Regions from separate parts of the Homo sapiens genome. Here regions 1, 3, 4, 5, 6 and 7 are each linked to region 2. The links are contacts of gene promoters, found by promoter capture Hi-C in blood cells and fetal thymus (Javierre and others, 2016). All regions are on one chromosome and are shown on one strand. Each heading gives the region's core, a stretch centred on a gene start or on the middle of the fragment in contact. The rest is flanking DNA. Distances are from core to core; before and after follow the strand shown. Region 1 overlaps PHIP (PHIP subunit of CUL4-Ring ligase complex). Region 2 holds the start of SH3BGRL2 (SH3 domain binding glutamate rich protein like 2). Region 3 overlaps PHIP (PHIP subunit of CUL4-Ring ligase complex). Region 4 overlaps PHIP (PHIP subunit of CUL4-Ring ligase complex). Region 5 holds the start of LOC124901346 (a long non-coding RNA gene). Region 6 overlaps PHIP (PHIP subunit of CUL4-Ring ligase complex). Region 7 has its middle 41 kb from the start of IRAK1BP1.

What was found. The method cuts DNA at HindIII sites, captures the fragments that hold promoters and counts their contacts. A CHiCAGO score of 5 or more calls a contact.
Region 1: a fragment that was not itself captured here is called in contact with the fragment with the promoter of SH3BGRL2 in region 2 in 1 of 17 cell types (megakaryocytes); the score reaches 6.0 in megakaryocytes.
Region 3: a fragment that was not itself captured here is called in contact with the fragment with the promoter of SH3BGRL2 in region 2 in 1 of 17 cell types (erythroblasts); the score reaches 5.4 in erythroblasts.
Region 4: a contact is called between a fragment that was not itself captured here and the fragment with the promoter of SH3BGRL2 in region 2, in 1 of 17 cell types (megakaryocytes). The highest score is 5.3, in megakaryocytes.
Region 5: a contact is called between a fragment that was not itself captured here and the fragment with the promoter of SH3BGRL2 in region 2, in 2 of 17 cell types (erythroblasts and megakaryocytes). The highest score is 6.1, in erythroblasts.
Region 6: a fragment that was not itself captured here is called in contact with the fragment with the promoter of SH3BGRL2 in region 2 in 1 of 17 cell types (megakaryocytes); the score reaches 5.3 in megakaryocytes.
Region 7: a contact is called between a fragment that was not itself captured here and the fragment with the promoter of SH3BGRL2 in region 2, in 3 of 17 cell types (erythroblasts, megakaryocytes and M1 macrophages). The highest score is 6.5, in erythroblasts.

Annotation. Positions count from the first base shown.
Region 1 is chr6:78,944,189-78,947,075 of GRCh38, forward strand. It overlaps PHIP (PHIP subunit of CUL4-Ring ligase complex), which reads right to left. Exons shown (of 40, transcript NM_017934.7): 37 at 2,523-2,686; 38 at 1,813-2,072; 39 at 1,112-1,309. It also overlaps a transcript of IRAK1BP1 not described here. Among named protein-coding and RNA genes, the nearest start is that of IRAK1BP1, 78 kb to the left of the region's middle. The HindIII fragment of the contact is 334 bases long and covers 1,425-1,758 here.
Region 2 is chr6:79,630,017-79,632,716 of GRCh38, forward strand. It overlaps SH3BGRL2 (SH3 domain binding glutamate rich protein like 2), which reads left to right and starts at 1,313. Exons shown (of 4, transcript NM_031469.4): 1 at 1,313-1,490. The coding sequence starts at 1,446. The HindIII fragment of the contact is 2,885 bases long and covers 1,012-2,700 here.
Region 3 is chr6:78,982,727-78,985,426 of GRCh38, forward strand. It overlaps PHIP (PHIP subunit of CUL4-Ring ligase complex), which reads right to left. Exons shown (of 40, transcript NM_017934.7): 22 at 2,626-2,700; 23 at 160-391. Among named protein-coding and RNA genes, the nearest start is that of PHIP, 94 kb to the right of the region's middle. The HindIII fragment of the contact is 4,214 bases long and covers 1-2,700 here.
Region 4 is chr6:79,053,150-79,056,037 of GRCh38, forward strand. The region is part of intron 6 of PHIP (PHIP subunit of CUL4-Ring ligase complex); the gene reads right to left. The region is part of intron 1 of LOC124901346 (a long non-coding RNA gene); the gene reads left to right. Among named protein-coding and RNA genes, the nearest start is that of PHIP, 24 kb to the right of the region's middle. The HindIII fragment of the contact is 2,931 bases long and covers 1-2,785 here.
Region 5 is chr6:79,002,250-79,004,952 of GRCh38, forward strand. It overlaps PHIP (PHIP subunit of CUL4-Ring ligase complex), which reads right to left. Exons shown (of 40, transcript NM_017934.7): 16 at 1,481-1,609. It overlaps LOC124901346 (a long non-coding RNA gene), which reads left to right and starts at 1,603. Exons shown (of 2, transcript XR_007059652.1): 1 at 1,603-2,453. The HindIII fragment of the contact is 4,846 bases long and covers 1-2,703 here.
Region 6 is chr6:79,033,006-79,035,705 of GRCh38, forward strand. All of the region lies in intron 7 of PHIP (PHIP subunit of CUL4-Ring ligase complex), which reads right to left. The region is part of intron 1 of LOC124901346 (a long non-coding RNA gene); the gene reads left to right. Among named protein-coding and RNA genes, the nearest start is that of PHIP, 44 kb to the right of the region's middle. The HindIII fragment of the contact is 464 bases long and covers 1,092-1,555 here.
Region 7 is chr6:78,907,049-78,909,892 of GRCh38, forward strand. It overlaps a transcript of IRAK1BP1 not described here. Among named protein-coding and RNA genes, the nearest start is that of IRAK1BP1, 41 kb to the left of the region's middle. The HindIII fragment of the contact is 1,887 bases long and covers 441-2,327 here.

The DNA of each region.
Region 1 (2,887 bases), core at 342-2,841, 690 kb before region 2:
TACAAAAGAGAGAAAGAAGGTAAAAGAACCTGGAATGTTAGGCAAGAGCCAAGTAATAAAGAGTCTTGTGTAACAGGCAAAAAATTTAAAATGTTTCCATATATGATTTGAAGGCAAGGAAGTGTTTTCTCTGTGTGTACGTACACACATCCACATGTGCTAGAGAGAAATAAAAAGATCGCTTTGGCTGCAATATGAGAGAGGGACTGGTTAAGAAAGAGTTGAGAACTGAGGCAGGAAGACCAGTTAGGAAACTAGGAAAATAGTCCAAGCAAGAAATTATGTAGGCCTTGAAATAATGTCATGGAGGTGAGAATGGAGAGGAGAGAATAGATTTAAGAGATGTTATGGAGGGAGAAACAACAAAAACAAAAAGCTGTTGAACAGATTCAGTTGCTGAAGAGAAGGCTAGGATGACTCCCTGATTTTAAGTTTACACGGGTAGATCCCAATGCCATTAACAAAAATAAGATTTCAGTAGAGAAATTAAATTTTGAGAGAGGTTTCTGAAGACAACAATGAAGAAATGTCTTAGACACACTTTGAAAGTCATGATGCAAAATGCTTATTATTGGGCTGTCTGCTGCCAAGAAGCCATATTATTTTAACATGTCACATGGCATATTTTATTATTTACCTTCTTCATCTTTCAAACATAAAGACTTTACAATAAAAACCTGGAGGTGAAAGAACTTGAAGTGTAACAGTAAGGTGTCAAAAGTTGTATTCTACAGTTGTAGACAACCCCAATGAATTATTATTTAGTAAAAGTCAGTCTAGAAAAATAAGTAGTTTTGTGATCCAATAATTACTTAAACATTTTTCTAGAAAAGTGAAGAATGCTACATTGGGTTAACTATACCCTATTTAATTTAAACTTTGAAGATTTATTTCTTTTTTTTTTTTTTCTTTTGAGACAGGGTCTCATTCTGTTTACCAGGATGGAGTGCAGTGGCACAATAATAGCTCATTGCAGTAAATTTATCAACTAATACAGATGTGTGACTTTTAAGTGGGCAACCTGAAAAGTGGATATAAATGCTGATTCCAACAAAAGCATTATTTATAATAAGGATCTACTGTATCTTGAAAGATACAAGTAATACCTTACCTTGCTCAATGACAGCTGATGACTTTGAAAGAGTGGACGCCTTTGGGAGTACAGATGACTTCATTTTACGTTTGACTGGCTTTTCCTTTTCCATGTTTTCTTTTGCAGAATTATTCCTAGTGCCATGACTAAAACTGGATTGACCAGGACTGGAAAGAGTATTCAAAGCTTTGGAATGTTTCACAGAATTCTCTAGTACTAAAACATACAAACAAAATTTAAAAATTAAGAGTTATTGAACCTAAAGATAAGAAAAAAGGTTAACCTGAATTATTTGAATTAGCCAAGACAACAAAACCTGAAGGATGCTTAAAGCTTTCTTAGGAAAGCTACTTTCTAATAGGAAAAAGGCGTATCCAACTAGAAACTCTTAATAGTTTCAGCCCTTTTAGAAGCTGTCCCATCATTTCAAAATTTCGAAGGCAAGTCTTGGCAAATTGCTAGCTAGTGTGGGTACTGTGATTTAAATTCAGGTAGTTTAGATCAGAGTTGCCATTTTTAAGCATTAGTCTATAATGACCTAAACCTCAATTTAATTCTTCTTATTAAAAACTTTTTTTTAAAATAGGAAATTAATAAAGAAGGCAAAAACAACAGTGTCTGCTAGGAATTACTAAAACTCAGTATATTGCATTTGGCAAAGTAAAAGCTTAAATTAAGAAAATCATCATATACATTTCAATTTAGAAAGTGAGTCTTACTTGTTTTCCCTGGTATTGCAGATGCATTAGCTTTTGTAATAAAAGTCTTTGCAGCTGAAGAAGTAGATGGTTGCTCAGTGACAACTGGATCTACAACCACTCGGTTGCTTCTGGTTCGAACCACAGAACTAGATTCTGTTTTACCGTTTATCTGAGCAGCATTGTGTCTTGGCGGTATTGATCGTGTAGGTGTAGAGAATGCAGAGGTAGAGCTTTCTGATTTTAGCTGGGGTTTTAAGATCCTTTTTTTCCTTTCAGGGCTGTAAATAAAATAGTATTGTCAGTCACTCTTATAGCTCTATGTGAACGAATAAAACAGTTTATAATATTTTTGGATTCAATATTTGTACTATTATGAAATATGTTAAAATATGAGATTTATAGTGGATTTCATATGATTGTGAGCCTTTGAAAGTGAATATTTAGTGAAGGATCGCTGTAAATGCTAAAGTTATATGACGGAAAGCATGATGCCATCACTATCCTAAAAATGCTGTTTTACTGTATAGATTTAGCAGTTTGAATTTAAGCACTTACACTAGTATAGCTTTAGTTAAAAGATTAAAAATCCTCCACATCATAGGAACTTGCATGTCAAATTATCATTCTGCAATATAGGGAATAGTAAAGGAAGTATTAAAAAACACCAAGTTCTATCATTTAGATGAAAGTTATAGATCAGCTAGTGGTATTTAAAAGAAATTAAATACCTTGATGCAGCACTACTGGAAACAGAGCTGCTTCTGTTTCTTTTCTTCCTCCTTTTGGTTATGGTATTTCTTTTATGAAAACGAAGAGCAGATTTATAATCTGATAAAACTGAACTAATGTGTTCTTCAAAGAAAGCAGACAGGCGCAAACTCATGCTGTAAATCTGTGAGGGAAAAAAAAAAGTGTTCAACCATTCCTTGGAGGAAAATACCTTTGTTCAGTAAATACTGTAATGTAAATATTTTTCCAGTAAAAAATATTTAGAATTTAATTATTGTTTTTTACATCCCTTTTTCCTAATCTTTTGATGAAAAGGTAAACTGAAGCATTTTAACAATTATGTATTTTTGTGTTTAGAACAGAA
Region 2 (2,700 bases), core at 63-2,562:
TCCACATTTATGGTAGCAAAATTAAAGTACATTTGCCGAGAGATACTAAAGACAGCAAAACTTCTATTTAAAATTTTAAACACGAAGAAGAAATAAAGTCCCATTAGGAGTGTCTCTTCTATTATTGAAGGAAATTTAAAAAGATTCCTACTACAGAAATGGCTTTAAGAAAAGCAATAGGAAAGGTTATAAATTTGAAATATTCATAACTGTTCTAAAAAATACTTCATAATGATTGCTCTTTGTGCAAGAAATGTATCAAAGAGCCAGAGACCTCATCATCTAATTTCTTACTTTTTCTTAATTAACATTGTTCCCAGACCTCTGCTAAACTCCCGTGTTGAAAGGAAAAAAGTAAATACAGTACAGCAGGGAAAACTGGTTCCTTTCGACAAAACTGAGAGAGAGGCTTGAGCTTTTGTCAAACAGAAAGCACTTGATAAAAAACTATTCCTAAACTATTAGCAACTATATAGAAGCTTTTTATTTAACAGCATCCTCCTGGGAAACTGCGCTGGAATGTGCAGCGGTTCTGAAAAAGGCACAGATTTGGCTGAACTGTAAATATTAGGTGCACAGAGGCGAAGCCATTGTGTAGGGAGGGGTGGGGCAGGTAGGGTCCTGATTTCCAATGTTGATAGAAGGATTCCAATTTCGTTTGGTATTTATTTTTTTCTACTACAATTACAGTTTTGCTGAGAAAAATAAAATATTGGTTGTGCTTCCATCTGGGTTTCTAATTTTCAGTGTGTACAGACAAGAGAAGACCTCTCATTTACCCAAAAGAATCACCTTTCTGCAATCTCCAGTGCTACTGGACAAACAAACGAGCCCAACCCCACCGCCCACACCTCCCAAGCACCCGGCTCGCCGATCCCGCCTGCTTCAGGTAGCTGGGGTTTGCCCGGTACGCCAGCGGCCCTGAGACGATGTGTGCCCGCAGCACGATCGTGTCTGTTGGCATTTCTGGGTGTGGATGCTCCAAACCAATAAACCACAATACAGAACCCAAGCTTGGACTTTGAACCGAGCCCTTTTGCCTAGTTTGCTTTTTCCTCATCAAGCCAGGATCCTTGCCAACCCACCTCACAGCTTCTGCCCGGGCTGTGGCTCCCCTCCAGCCACCTGCGCGTGTTCGGGATAGAAGCGCGGTCAGGAGGGGAGCTCAGTCCACCAGCCACTCCAGGGAGAGACGGAAACTACAAATCCCATCAAGCCCCGCAGCCGGCTCCCTCCTCCTCCCTCTCCTTCCCCTTCAGCCTGCGGCCGGGCGGCGCTGGGCTTTTATCTGCGGACCCGCCGGGAGGGAGCCAGATCCCAGCGATCTTCCCCGACGGCAGCGCTTTACCCAGAGGCTGCCGGCGGCTCGTAGCTGGGTTCAGCTCTGCGTCCACGCCAGCCCGGAGCCCGGGGGGCAAGGGGTCTGTCCCGGGCGCAGCGAGAGGATGGTCATCCGCGTGTTCATCGCCTCTTCCTCGGGCTTCGTGGCGGTGAGCGCGGTGGGGGCGGGCAGTAGGTTGGGGTCGCGGGGCGCGGGTCCTGCGGGAGGCGCGCGGCGCTCGTCACTGCGCGTCCTTGCGCTCAGCCGGTCCGCCCGCGGGAGCCCGCGCCCGGCAGGTGATCCATCACACTCCGACAACAATGAAGAGGGCGGGGAGGAAAGGTGGGTGGGGGACCCCGGCCTCACCCAAATGCCCACCCTGCGTGGCCTGAAAGGCAGACAACGCGGCCTGAAAATGGAGTCCGAGGGAAGCCCCCAGCTCCTGTTGTGTGGCATGGAAATTTGGGGAACGGGTTGTTCAAGAGCTTCGGGGATCCCCCTTCCCCTAGTTTAGTTCTTCCCGATTTGGGACCTTCAGACTGGTTATGTTTTGCACGGGAGCCTTTTCTGCTGCTTTGGTTTGTTACCCTAGCTCCTGAATGAAGCAAGTTTAAGTGGGAATTGCTCTCTGTCCTCCCTTCCCCGCCAGCAAGTGCATTTGTTTAGTTTTATACCTGCGCAAAGAGAATAGTAAAACTAGGTTTGTCCTGTTGTGGTAGGATTGTTTGCTTTCACTGTCATTTTTTTTCTTAGGGTGCCATAAATATTTTTACATCTTTATGTAAATGTGTGTGTATGCACGCATTTTCTTTCCACCTGTAATGCTGTGGAAATTTTATCCTGGGGATCTATGAATTGTGGTTTTCTATTTAATTATTTTTAGCTATTCTCTTTGGTGGATGTTCTTGAATTTTTTTAGAGAAAAAAAATTTTTTTAAAGAAAGGAAAGTTAAATAGCTAGAGATGTCAGAATTTAAGGAAAATTCAGTAGTTAGTATATTTGACAGCCCACTAAGGGACATAGCACATGTGTTTTACATGATTATTGAGACTTGGTTTCCTTAACCAAGAGTTCAGCTATAGATTTAAGAGCCTCCTTTGTGACATATATAATCAAGTAACATCAAAAAGTGCATTGTAGATTGCTTAAATTTGGTCTGGTCAATTGTCTGCCCAGTAGCTCAGTCAGATTGTTCCAAAATTTGTTTCTTAAGTGGGTGGAGTGGAGGATGGAATAAAATATTGTTTGAAAATCCTTGTACACCACTGAAGTTTTTTATTTAAAAAGAAACCAACACGATCATACAAAGCCCCTCCACCCCCATTTGCACTAGAAACAATAGATGGGAAAATCCAACTTACACTTATGTGCAGTCATG
Region 3 (2,700 bases), core at 1-2,500, 650 kb before region 2:
ATATTTAGGTAAACTTTTTTACTACTGTGTATTTCTGAGTTTTTTCTATTATTATTTGCTGATACACTTCAACAATGTTTGTGATCAATTGTACTTCAAGATGTGTGCTTTAAACTGTTTCTCTAGAAAACACCAAATTTGTAATGTTAAAAACCAAACCTTTTGTTTTCTTTCTTTGGGCTTCTTTTTCTTTGGTGATATTGGTCCATCTTTTTCTTCATTTACTTTTTTCTTTTCCTTTTTAATCTGTTTTTGCTTCTGTTTTTCAGATTCTTCTTCTTCATCTGAACTGCTTTCTGCTTTCTTGGTTTTATTCTTAGGAACTTTCTTTGGTGGCTGCAGATTAATTCCTGCATCTGCTGTCCAGTCAGAGTAATCACTGGAGTAGTCACTAGAAGGAGAGAAGGGATTATTAGATAACACACAAGATAAAATTTTAAGACTTGTTTTATAAAAACGAAAAGAAAGATTATAATAAAGAGAAATGACAGAACAAATACTTAAACTACAAAAAAACTTCCCTAATTTTCAACTCATCTTCAAAAGTTTCTTGAAATTCTATAGGCTTTACTTAAATATCGCAAAAAAACTCCCCCAAAACCTGAAGATACATAAAGTCACAACTTTAAGTGAAAAAACAAATTTAAGTACCTTCCAAGATTTTAAGAAAAATACTGACTTCTGAGTGTTGCATATGTTACAAATTCTGTGAGCATATAAAAATAAGAGGGGGTCACTTTTCTCAGTTCTATTGACAGCAAAAAGATAACCCTGGAGAGCACAGAAGGTGTCAACATTAAGGAGATATGGGGATTCCTTTTTTAAGGGGAGGTGGGAGTTCCAGACAGGGGAACTCTTATGGTCCAGTACTAGTGCTCTCAGGGTAGCTGGATATTGAACTGGCAGAGTCAGAAGTGTTCCTACCCAGGGGAAAGACTGTGTTTGCAAACTTTACTCTGCATGTAAAGTAACAAAATTTCATTTAGATAAAATTATTCTACCTACCTACACCCTACACGTTAGGTGTATCTTATGCTTCAAAGCATGCCATGATTCAGAAAAATACAGGCCTTACTATATTTTGTATACTGCTTCCAATCATGTTTGTCATTTCTTTTTAGTTTACCTTCATTGACAAACGATTTACTGAACCAATCATGTTGCAAAATAAAGAATCTAGTTGTATTATCTTCTATATTAATTTTAGTATGTGAGCATATTTACTTATTTTGTACAATTTTATGAACATAAATGTCTTAAAGGAACCTAAGTTATACTATGTTAAAAGCAATAATTAGCTTTCCCAGATTTAATGATATATGACCTCATGCCTCTAAAAATACTGCTGTTAACATTAACACTGAAAAAGCAGATTTTTCTGGAGCTTTATTCCATTGTCACTAACCCTCCCCACTACCCCTCTCCACTGTCCAAATGTTCTTTATAAGCACGTACCTAAATCTCTGATTATCCTAATCATCCCAGATAAGAATCAAATAATTAAGATGTTCTCTAGCATGATTTAGTGATTTCACTATGAAATTTAAAATGATTTTTAAGAACTTACACTATTTTCAGCTATGCTATTCTAAAATAGGTTGTCTTCAACTTATGAGCATTTTATTTATACTAGCTCCAGCCATGGCCACTGTAAATGGTACCTGCCAAATCACACAGTTATCACTCTCTGGAGTACTTGGCTCTTACAGAAGATCTTCTGCTGTCAGCATAAACATAATTACAAACTCCAGAGTCCAGCATTCTTTACAACCGTCCTCAACTGCTAAAACCACCACTACTCTTTTAATACAGGAACTCCTATGTCATCTCAGGGTTTGAAATACTCTGATTCTGCTGTCGAGCCAAAAGAAATTCAATTTTTCCTTCATTGACCTGTTTTGAATACAGAAAACTACTAGATATAACCACACACATTTGCACATCATTACCAGAAATCACTACTGTGGGAATAGGAGAGCCCTTGATTGTACAACTGAGGAACTCTTACAGCCTCTACTTCATACTTTGTCTCGTCTATTTTAAGAGCCACTAAGGTGGGGGATAAGTGTAGCAGCTAATCATAATTGCCATCCCCAAAGGCTATACTCTCTTTTTGCTATTAAGACCTTGCAAAGTTAGCCAAGGTCATAAGCTCTGCAACAATGTGAATCGCCAGTATAAGGAGTTGAAGGAATCCTCACTGGTCTGGTCAAATAAGGTAGGCATAACAAGAAAAAGGAGAGCTTATTCCTCTTATCATTAGTATTCCATAAATTCCACTATATAAGATAGTTAACTCAGGAGGCTTGCATTGCTTTCTTAACTTCATACTTTTCAAAACCAGTAATGAAACTGGTTTGCAATTCAACATTATAACGGTATTCAGAAGAAACAATACTAAGATGATAAAGTTAAAAGCATCATTTTGCAGATCTAGTTGCAATCACCAAAAAATTATTTTCTATAGAGAACATATATCAGAAAATCTACATTTCATACAACTTCAAAAACTCTCTGAAGAACTTTGAACTTACAGAGACTTTGAAACGTGTTGCTGGTTAAAAAAAAAAACACCTTTCTAAAGACTTTATATAACATTTGGAAAAATAAAAAGCATTCATTTACCTAGAACTGCCATCACTGTGCCATGCTCTCTCTTCTTCTTCGGATGTTCCACCACTGACAGCAACTACTTCGCCT
Region 4 (2,888 bases), core at 70-2,569, 580 kb before region 2:
CTAAAAATACAAAAATTAGCCGGGTGTGGTGGTGCATGCCTGCAGTCTCAGCTACTTGAGGGGCTGAGGCAGGAGAATGGCTTGAACCTGGGAGGAGCAAGTTGGAGTGAGCCGACATTGCGCCACTGCACTTCAGCCTGGGCAACAGAGCGAGACTCAATCTCAAAAGAATAAAATTAAATTAAAAATGTAGGGTTATCTTAAAGAGTTGCTATAGAAAACAGACGAGACAAAATGTTTTGCAAATTCAAAGGTATTTTATACTAACATTGATATGGACTGTCCCTAAACAATCAAATCTTCATGTGCCATAAAAGTTAATTTAACTGAACATAGTTTTCTTTTACTTTTTAAAAGACTTTTGTTGGAGCCCAATTTTCCCCGAGGCTTCCTTATGGAGCTGAACAAATTATTCCTTTGTTTATAAAAATATCTATTCAGCCTGATCTGATCATGGACTTCCCAGGTCCAAAAGATGTCTAAGAAAACACTGAATACGTAACTTTAAAGGATCCCTGAAGAAATTCAAAATAAAAAGTCATGACCTTATGAGAAAATAATATCATAATTTGCTTCACCTACACAGATATGAGTATTCAACAAAATCAAACCCAATAATCACTCTGGAAAAATATGTGATGCAAACTAAAAGGGAAAATGGCTAGTGATTCCTAATTACTACTGGAATTGCTTGCCAGATGGTTTATATGAAGTGGAGGGGATATCCCTCATCACATCTATAACCTAAAAACAAATGTTATCCTATTAGTTACAGAAGAAATTAAAACACAGCTAGCTACAAAAGCAACAATTTAAACTCACCTAAGGGAGTTTCATTTCTTCAAAGTTTTGCCCCCTTTTTTTTGTCAACCATTAATTTCAAAAGAAATTTAAGCAGAGGAAAAAATAAATAAATATATATTTTGTACATCTGATACTTTGGCATAATGAACATTATTTCCCTAAAAAAAAAAAAAATGCTAATACACCTTGCAAGTCTCTCACAGCTAACCTGTTTTTAAGAGGCAAAAAAAAGGGAGGAAATAGAAAGGCAGGGGAGGGGCTAGGGAGAAAATAGTTAATAAAACAACAAAACCTGTGTCAAATAGAAATATGAAGATCATTCAGGGAAAACACTAAAAAACAAAGACCAAGACAAAAAAGAATATAACTGAGTCAACAATCATTAAACCAAAAAAAAAAAAGCGAAGTATAAAACCTTTATAAGACTAAAATTATGACTAGAAAAACAGAAAATGAGCTCTAAAAGTAAAAATGGTTACTGAGAAACAATAGGTTAAAATAAATATATTTAAATAAGTGATGAGTAGATATCTAACTAGGAATAAAGTATGGATTGAGTAAGAAAATGGAAAGAAAAAACACTGAATATAGCATATTAGAAAAAGATAAGTGAACAGGAAAAAAACCCCATATATTATATCCTATAATTTGCTGAATTATATGTAACTGTTAACTTATATATTAAAATTATGTAATCTCATATATTTGTAATATAAAAAAATTCTAATAATTATGTAAGAAATATATGAGGAAAAATATAAACCTAAGAGTCTAAGAAAAAAAAACCTTGATTGAATAAATTTAAGAAATTACCAGCTACAGAAAATTCAAACACAATATTGGAAATATGGCAAAATATAGCACAAGGTGAGAAAGAAGAGTCTTCTCTACAAAGATTTGCATCTAGCTTTAAGTGACTGTTTGCTGTCTTTATTCAAACTAGTCTTCTCAGAGAATCACAAAATTATAAATGTAGACAAGATTTAAGACTTTTTTTTTTTTTAAATGCAAAGGCTTCTTAGCATTAATTGGATGTCTGGGTAGTGAAGCTACTTTTCAAGGCAAAGTTTTTTCCTTACCCTCAAACATGTTTAAGAATCAGGATTCTCAAAACTCCTTATCCTCACACAAAACTGCAGAACTTAATAGCAAACCTCCACAGACAAGTAAAATAAAAATATGGAAATACTTAGGCAAAACACCAAAAACGATGACAAATGAAAGACCTAGAGATAAAAAGTTTACTTTGCTAACATGTCAAATGTAAGAAAAATGCAAACAAAGCAATCAGCAGAAATTGCTTTAATTTAATGTATTACAATCTTTTTCACAAGATAAACATGCATTAAACCAACTTCCAAATTTAATCTTAAAAACCCCTTTAATGTATTTAGGTCTCTTCTTTCCTATCTCCCCTTACTCATGCACATTTATTACTGAAGTATAAGCAAATATAGAATAAACTATATCTGAAAACAGGCATAATGTGGGTATGGAGGTAAGAGAAAGGACAATACTAAAGATTCGCTAATACCTTTGGAAGTAAATGCTGCTATGCCAAGTACACACTCACATCTCTCTTCCACAATAAAAGAATCACAAGCTAGTAATAACAACAGATCAGTGGGATCTTTTGTCTTTGCTTTTGAAAACAGTATTAAAGGAGGTTCTAGAGCACTGGAAGGCAGGTGAACCACTTTGGGTCTCTTGCTGAGACTGAGTTCTAGTTCAATTTTCACAACTTACATCAAAGACCAAAAGGTTCAAAGTAGTTGGGAATTCTAAGCACATAATAAAATAAAACAGGATAAGAAAACACTGAGACAAGCTCAAGTGGCTTCTCAAATTGTATAGGTATGTATTTTATATTCCAAGTGTAATGAACTGATAACTCAGTCTACTCATAAACCTTAATTTCTTAAAAATCAGTTTCTGGTTTGGTGATTTTATCTTCTCTTACCACAAAGCTATTCTTGGATCAAGCTTCTCTTCTTTCTACCAACCTTCATTCCATTTTTGTAATACCTTACCCACCTTTGAACTTTACTTGTCCCATCCCAGTGTATGAATTTCATCAACTACCT
Region 5 (2,703 bases), core at 4-2,503, 630 kb before region 2:
TTAAAATATTATTTTCCTGAATTAATTGTAAATAGGTATTTTAATTTTCTACCTTAAGTATTATGATCAGAAAAGTAGCTGCTTTAAATTTTCTCTGAAACAAGTAAGGGATTATACACAGGAGTCCCCTCTTATTTGCAATTTTGCTTTCCATGGTTTCAGTTACCTGTGGTCAACCTGACTCCAAAAATGCTGTTCCAGAAATAAACAACTCATAAGTTTAACTGTGCACTGTTCCAAAATGCATAATGAAATCACGTGCCATCTCACTTGGGACACAAATCATCCCTTTGTCCAGCATATCCACATTGTCTAGATATGCTACCCACCCATTACTGTATAGGAAAAACACAGTGTGAATAGGGTTTGGTACTTTCCAAGGTTTTAGACATCCATTTGGAGTCATGGAACATATTCCCTGTGGATAAGAGGAGGCTACTGTGTAGAAAAGCTACCACTAAAAATAAGCTATTCAATATTCAATTTTAAATTAAATGGTAACATCAAATCTAGTCATAAATCATTCAACAGTATTTTTACTTCCACAGAGCTACCATGCTTTATCTTAAATCCTTAGGTATACAGTAAGTATGATTTGTGTAATATTACTATAAAAATCACATAAGATTTTCTAAGGGTTAATAAGCATTTTCTCTAAATGTTTTGAGATGATATAAAATTATTAATATAAACTCAACCAGGACATAAATTTTATTATATAAAATTTCACTGGTTAATTTGCAATTTTTTAAACTAAATTATAAACTACTCAATATTTACTATCATAACCTTTTATACCATTCCACCACAAGTAAGCAATTTAATTCTTTTAGTCACTAATCTTAAAGTTGGGGTCTTTAACTGCTGAGCAAAGTGGCAGGGCATATGCCTGTAGTGCCACCTGCAGTTATTTAGCAGGCTGAAATGAGAGGATTGTTTGAGCCCACGAATTCAAAGCCAGTCTAGGCAACATAGTGAGACATTTCACCCCTACTCTGTAAAAAAAAGCCCCCCAAAAACTGGACAGGATCTTTAATAAAAAACATTAACTACAATCAGGTAATATAATACATTTTTAAGAGCCACATGAAAGCCACAGATTTGTACCCTAGATAAGTACGTATTATCTATATTAAAAAAACATTTTACATAATTTCAGAGTCCCACTATGGATAACATCTTCCATCTCCAGTTTATATACCCCAAGTTAAGAATTCCAATCTAGATTGCCCCAGGAGGCTAAGAGTTATTTTTTTCCTGAAATATGCAGATTTTCAAATAATAAGCCCTATTAAAGTGAGATTTAACTGCTGTCTTCACCTTCCTTTCCGAAACTAAGTCTCCAGACTACTTAACACAAGATTCTTCGAATTTTATCCTGAATGTAAAGATGCTGATTCTCACCCACTCCAAAAACATACAACCCCTAAACATGCATTAAAAAAAAATAAGGACATGATATATAGTCATCATACTCTACCTTGTCATATTTGCTACTGGACCCAAAGCCAAAAATTAAAAGATGTCCATGAGAGTCTGTGCATGCAAAATGCTGACCATCAGGAGAGCATTTGCAGTCAAATACTGCGCCATGTCCTTGGCCTTCAATCTGAAATATATTTAACCAACAGTAAGAAAACTACCATTAAAATGAAAAGAATTGGTCACTATTATTACAATAATTTTAAGATAAAAGCATACATCCTAATGAAGTGAAGATTAAGTAAAACAAGCATTGTACAGTAATAAAATTTATGAATATTCATGAAAAGTGCCAGATTAATAGCCTTGAAAAATAAAGTATTCTATCCACAGACCAAACACAATTCAGGAAATAAAAGAATACCAACTCCCCCACCCATAGAATTCTGCTTCATGTTTTAAACTCAGATTTAACACATAATTATGTCTTACACTCCATCTATCTCCGTTCAATCATGCCCTTTCTGCAAAAGCTGACATGTAGCAACTGTACGGATTTTTTGGTAATTCTTGGAAGTAGTAGCCAGAGATCATTGCTCAAATGACACTAGATTTTATTATTTTTGGTAATAAATTCCCTGGTAGTCTGACTCGTCTTTTAAATGGTGAATTTCAAAGGTTAAAGAAAAGGTTTTTTTTACCTGATAATTGTTTTCTGTTTTCCAGTTCCATTAATCCAGAACGAATGGGTTTCCTCCCTGCAACCTGTCAATCAAACAGAGGTGGCCAATCACCACTCTGAATTTTTTGCTCTCAGTGCTTCTTCAGACTATGTTCCAGTTGAAAACTTCTTTAGCAGTGTTCTGAAAGAGGTAAAAATTCTACCCTATCTAAAGCACATCTAGGGACTGAATTTCAGAAACAACTAAAATAGGGAGTTGACTCCCTAACAAATAACAACTAAGGATGATTTTCAACAAATGCTGTTGGATTTCTGGATTAGCAGAATCGGAACACACACACATTATCAGGTAAGAAATACCTCCTTTCTGTTCCGGTATCCACTGATCTAGAACAAATTGAGCTTTATTAGTAATATCCCAGGAAATGCTTGGAAAAGAGAAAGGTAGTAACTTTCTTTCTTTAGTATTAAAAATGTGGCATAAGGATGGATGTACAGTTCACCAAATGCAGAAGTTAAAATTCAGAAGAAGAATAACTGATTTCTCAAGGAAGGTTTGCATTTTGGTAAAAAGAGAAAATATTTCTATAAAAGAAAGG
Region 6 (2,700 bases), core at 74-2,573, 600 kb before region 2:
AGGGTTCCTGGGTGACCAGGCATCTTGTTAATGAACAGTAATATCTTGAAAGGAATCTTTTTTTTTTTCTGAGCAGTAGGTATCAACAGTGGGCTTAAAATATTCAGTAAACCACGCTATAAAAAGATATGCTGTCATCCAGACTTTGTAGTTCCCTTTACAGAGCACAAGCAAAGTAGTTTAGCATAATTCTTATGGTCCTAGAATTTAAAAAATGGTAAATGGACACTGGTTTCAACTTCAAGTCACTAGCTGCATCAGCCCTGAACAAAAGAGTCAGCCTGCTTTTTGAAGCTTTGAAGCCAGGCATTGACTTCTCTCTAATTATGAAAGTCCTAGATGATGTATTTTTCCAATACACAGCTGTTTCACCTGTAATTGAGAATCTATTGCTTAGTGTAGCAACTTTCTTCAATGATCTTAGCTAGGTCTTTTGGATAATTTGCGGCAACTACTTCATTAGCACTTGTTGCTTCACGTTGCACTTTTATGTTATGGAGATGGCTTTTTTCCTTAAACCTCGTAAGCCAACCTCTGCTAGCTCCAACTTTTCTTATGTAGCTTCCTCATCTCTCAGCCTTCACAGAATTAAGAGTCAGGGTCTTGCTTTGGATTAGCCTTTGGCTTAAAAGAGTATTGTGGCTAGTTTTGATCTCCTATAGAGACCACTTAAACTTTCTCTATATCAGCAATGAGCTCTTTAACTTTCTCATCATTTGTGTGCTCACTGGAGTAGCACGTTTAATTTCCTTCAAGAACTTTTGCTTTACATTCACAACTTGGCTAACTCTTTTAACATGCATTCCTCACTCGCCTTAATCTTTTCTAACTTTTGAATTAAAGTGAGAGACCTGAGACTCTTCCTCTCACTTGAACACTAAGAGGCCATTGTAGGGTTATTAATTGGATTAATTTCAATAGGCAGGCCCAAGGAGAGAAAAATGGGGAAGGGCCAGTTGGTGGAGCAATCAGAACACATGCAACATTCATTAAGTTCGCCATAAGGGTGCAGGTCATGGCACCCTAAAAAGACTTACAATAGGAACATCAGAGATTATAGATCACCATAACAGTTATAATAATAATGAAAAAGCTTGAAATATTGTGAGAAGTATCGAAATGTGAAAGAGACAAGACTTGAGCATATGTTGTTAGAAAAATGATGCTGACAGACTTGCTTTACTCAGGGTTTTCACAAATATACAATTTGTAAAAAATACAGTATTTGCAAAATGCAATAAAGGCACAATGAAACAGGGTACGTCTGTATTAGCATTTTTCATAAAGCCTAGGCAGTGTCTAGTAACACATTTGACTTTAATGTTCTCATGAAGAAAAGTTCCACAGGTCTTTATGACGTGGCTTTCTACTGTTAGGCACTTTGGTATTAAAATTATCCTCAAAATCCAGAAAAAAATGGCCTACGTACTGCCATGAAAACTTCAAACAACTTCAGACACAGGGCCATGAATCACTTCAATTCGATGCAGAAACCAAACAGCACCTAAAGTCTATGCCCCCAAATTTTAATAATTTAATGAGTTTCCAGAGGTTAAGCTTCAAAAGGCCTAATTGAACTATTTATTTATTTAAAGAAAAGCTAAGTTTCAGAACAACTTGATAGAGCTCTTTCTGGTATGGCTTATTTACAGATACTCTGACTACATAAATGAAATACAGGCCTTTCTATGCAAGGCCAAGAAGTCAATTTAGGCCCAGATGTTGCAAAACTATGAAGTAGACAATTAGAGAGGACAATTCTGTTCAGTAATAAAGTAATTTACAGGAAGCAGCATAAATGACAAGGAATGGTTGAATTCTCTAAGTGAAATCATGCCCCAAAGAGTTAAAGAAATCAACGACTAACATTGATTAACACTGAATGACTAATATTCTTTGAGTGTGCGGGATGGCAACTAAGAAACAACTTGTCCAAACACTGAAACTCCCTCTACTTATGAGATAGAACTGGCTGAAATCAGTTGGAACCAAGATGGCCAACTGGAGTCTGCACAGAACAAGCTTGCTGACATCATAGCCTGACTATCTACCACATTTCATACTAACTACCCTAGAATTTGCACATGTGACCCATGAGGTATCATAATGAGTTAACTGTGCATGCCCAGGGACATTCCAGACCTCCCCTTTCCTTCCACCAAACACCTACTAATCTCAGAATTCACCCCTACTGAACCTGTAATAAAAATACTGCCTTGAAACCAGCATGAGGAGACAGATTTGAGCTTGACCCCTGAGTCTTCTTGGGAGTTGACTTTCAATATAAAGCTTTTCTTTTCTCAAAAACCCAGTGTCATAGTATTGGCTTCTAGTACACTGGGCAGCAAGCCCCCTCTGCTCAATAACACAAGCAGAAAACTGTACACATTGGGAAACAGTTTACTTCTGTTCAGATAACTTGAGAAACCTTAAAATTAAAATATTGACCTATGTACCTAAAAGAGAGGCATAAATTATACAAAGATTACTACTTTGACATGAAAATAAAAGAAATTATGTGATTTTTTAACTAAAAATATCTTAGAGAATTTGGCATTCCTTGAAAACCTACTGTTATCTGGCAGAGTCAACAAGGAGAATTTTAATTTCTCTTGAGGCTACTTTACAGCTTTTGAGTCAGAGATCTCATCTCTTATTGCCATTAGAATAAGCAGTAGAAATGAATGCCAAAAATGTTGT
Region 7 (2,844 bases), core at 134-2,633, 720 kb before region 2:
GAACACAGAGTTGCAAACTGTCACTACACTATTTGTACACAACTCCACAGTGATGTCTTCCATGATGCATCTCTAAGCAGTATATGAGGAAAAAAGATGAAAAACAAGGTTACTAACTTTGCTGTGCAAATTATTTTAGAAATATTTACCCTTAAAATGCTAGGTGTTTTTCTAGTTACTGTGTGAATCTGTCACTAATTTTTATTTTTTGGTATTGGATTGAAAACTAATTAGAAACATTACCATATAATTAGCTTTCTTCCTAGTTATACCTATTTTTATTAAAATAAATGATAAATAGCACAATTTCCTCTGATTCAAGCACCATATTTTCCACAAAACTTGGGGTCATATAACAGGTATCTTACATTTGTGTGTCCAGATAAAAGCCCACCTGGTATTTGTGATGAAAATAAAGAGGAAGCTTCTACTGCAAGAAAAGCTTTCTTCACTAGGAACAGAAGATCCTTTCCTGAGGAAAGGGAAGTGAAATTCCAGAGACCCATTTAATCCATAGTTTCTGTGTTAAAACTAAAACTTTAGAAGCTGTTACTGAGAATGTTTATTTTGTCTGTGTGTTGTTGAATACACACACACAATGAAAAATTGAGGTAGCCTAATTATATTAGATGTTTTGCTTAGTAACTGAGATAACACTTGTTTTTATTTATTTATTATTATTTTTTTTTGAGACAGAGTCTCACTCTGTCACCCAGGCTGGAGTGCAATGGCGCAATCTCCATTCACTGCAACCTCTGCCTCCCGGGTTCAAGCCATTCTTCTGCCTCAGCCTCCCCAGTAGCTGGGACTACAGGCGCATGCCTCCAGGCCCAGCTAATTTTTGTGTTTTTAGTAGAGACGGGGTTTCACCATATTGGCCAGGCTGGTCTCAAACTCCTGACCTCTTGATCCGCCCGCCTCAGCCTCCCAAAGTGCTGGAATTACAGGCATGAGGCACTGCACCCGGCCTTTTATTTTTTATTTTATTTATTTATTTATTTATTTATTTATCTATTTTTTGAGACAGAGTCTCACTCTGTTGCTCAGGCTGGAGTGCATTGGTGTAATCTTGGCTCACTGCCACCTCTGCCTCCCGGGTTCAAGCAATTCTCCTGCCTCAGCCTCCCGAGTAGCTGGGAATACAGGTGCCCGCCATCATGCCTGGCTAATTTTTTTGTATTTTTAGTAGAGATGGGGTTTCACCATATTGGTCAGGATGGTCTTGAACTCCTAACCTCGTGATCCACCCGCCTCAGCATCCCAAAGTGCTGGGATTAAGGCGTGAGCCACCACACTCGGCCATTATTTTTTATTTTTTTAGAGCAGGGTCACACTCTGTTGCCCAGGCTGGAATGCAGTGGTGCCATCATAGCTCACTGTAACCTTGAACACCAGACTCAAGTGATCTTCCTGTCTCAGCCTCTTGAGTAGCTAAGACTCAACCAACACACCTGGCTAATTTTCCTATTTTTAGTAGAGATGAGGTCTCACTATGTTGCCCAGGCTGGTCTCAAACTCCTGGCCTCAGCTTATCCTCCCACCATGGCCTCCCAAAGTGCTAGGATTACAGGTGTAAGCCACCAGACTCAGCCAAGATGGCACTCATTGGTCAGTGTTCAATAGGTGCCTACATATTGCTAGCGTGTGCACATCTACCAGAAGAACTTCTGGGTTTAGACACATAATGGGGTGGAAAATCAATGTGCAATATTTTTTTAAGCCACCCTCAGCTGACTCTTCACCAACAGTAGTCTAATAGGTAGAAGATGGTGAGTCATCATCTGCCTTTCAAGTTCTTTCCCAACAACAGGTTTATTTCTTGATGTATGTGCAGTCCTAGAGCTGAAGGAGATAGATAGGATCAATTCTGGGCCCACCTTCTGTCTAATCTCAAACCTCTTCTACAGCATCCTTGATGATTTGTCAGCCAGCCTTTGGCATTAGAACGTTGATCAGAAACTGTGAGGAGTAATAGCATGAAAGGCCAGTCTTGGGACTACAGAGAAAATATGAAGTGATAAGAGGGAAAAGTGTATACTGAGAAGGAAAACTAATGATTTAAGATGGCGAAGCAAGCAAATACAGATGATCCTAACTTACGATAGTTCAATTTATGATTTTTCAACTTTATGGTGGTGCAAAAGCCATACACATTCAGTATATACCTCCACTTATGGCAGGAATATGTCCAGACAAGCCCATTATAAGTTGAAAATATCCTAAGTCAAAAACACACTTCTGACTTAGCAATATTTTCAATTTACATTGAGTTTATCCAGACATAATCTCATGGTGAATCAAGGAGCAGTTGTATCAGATTGGCCTGAAGCTTAGCACAGCCTCCTTCTCTTTCCCTGAAATGTAAAGATTTTAACCTAGCTTCTCTCAGCAATTTTCATAAAGTACTTCAACGTTCCCCTGAATGAAAACATAATTAAAGAGACATGTATTTGTATGCTCTTTTCACTTCCTGATTCCAAGCCGAAAAGCTGGGCTATTTAAGGGCATGACAAATGCAGAATTGCACAACTCTAAATCTGAACAGCACTGCTGGGTCCCCACATTTCACTAGGAGAAGGGCCTTTAATTTGCTCCAGCAACAATAAAAAGTGGTACATAGGCTAAGATGAAGTCCAGATGCCAAGGGAACCTATGAATTACTTTAAGACACATGGGAACCAATTACAATGTGTGGAGTTTATTTGGATCTTGATTCAAACACGCTAAATCAACAAATATTTATAGCAGGAGACATTTGGAAATTTGAATACAGACCAGATGTTTGATGTTATTTCTTTTCTTTTTTTGCTCACTCTCAGCAGAATCAGTGATGTTATTTCTATA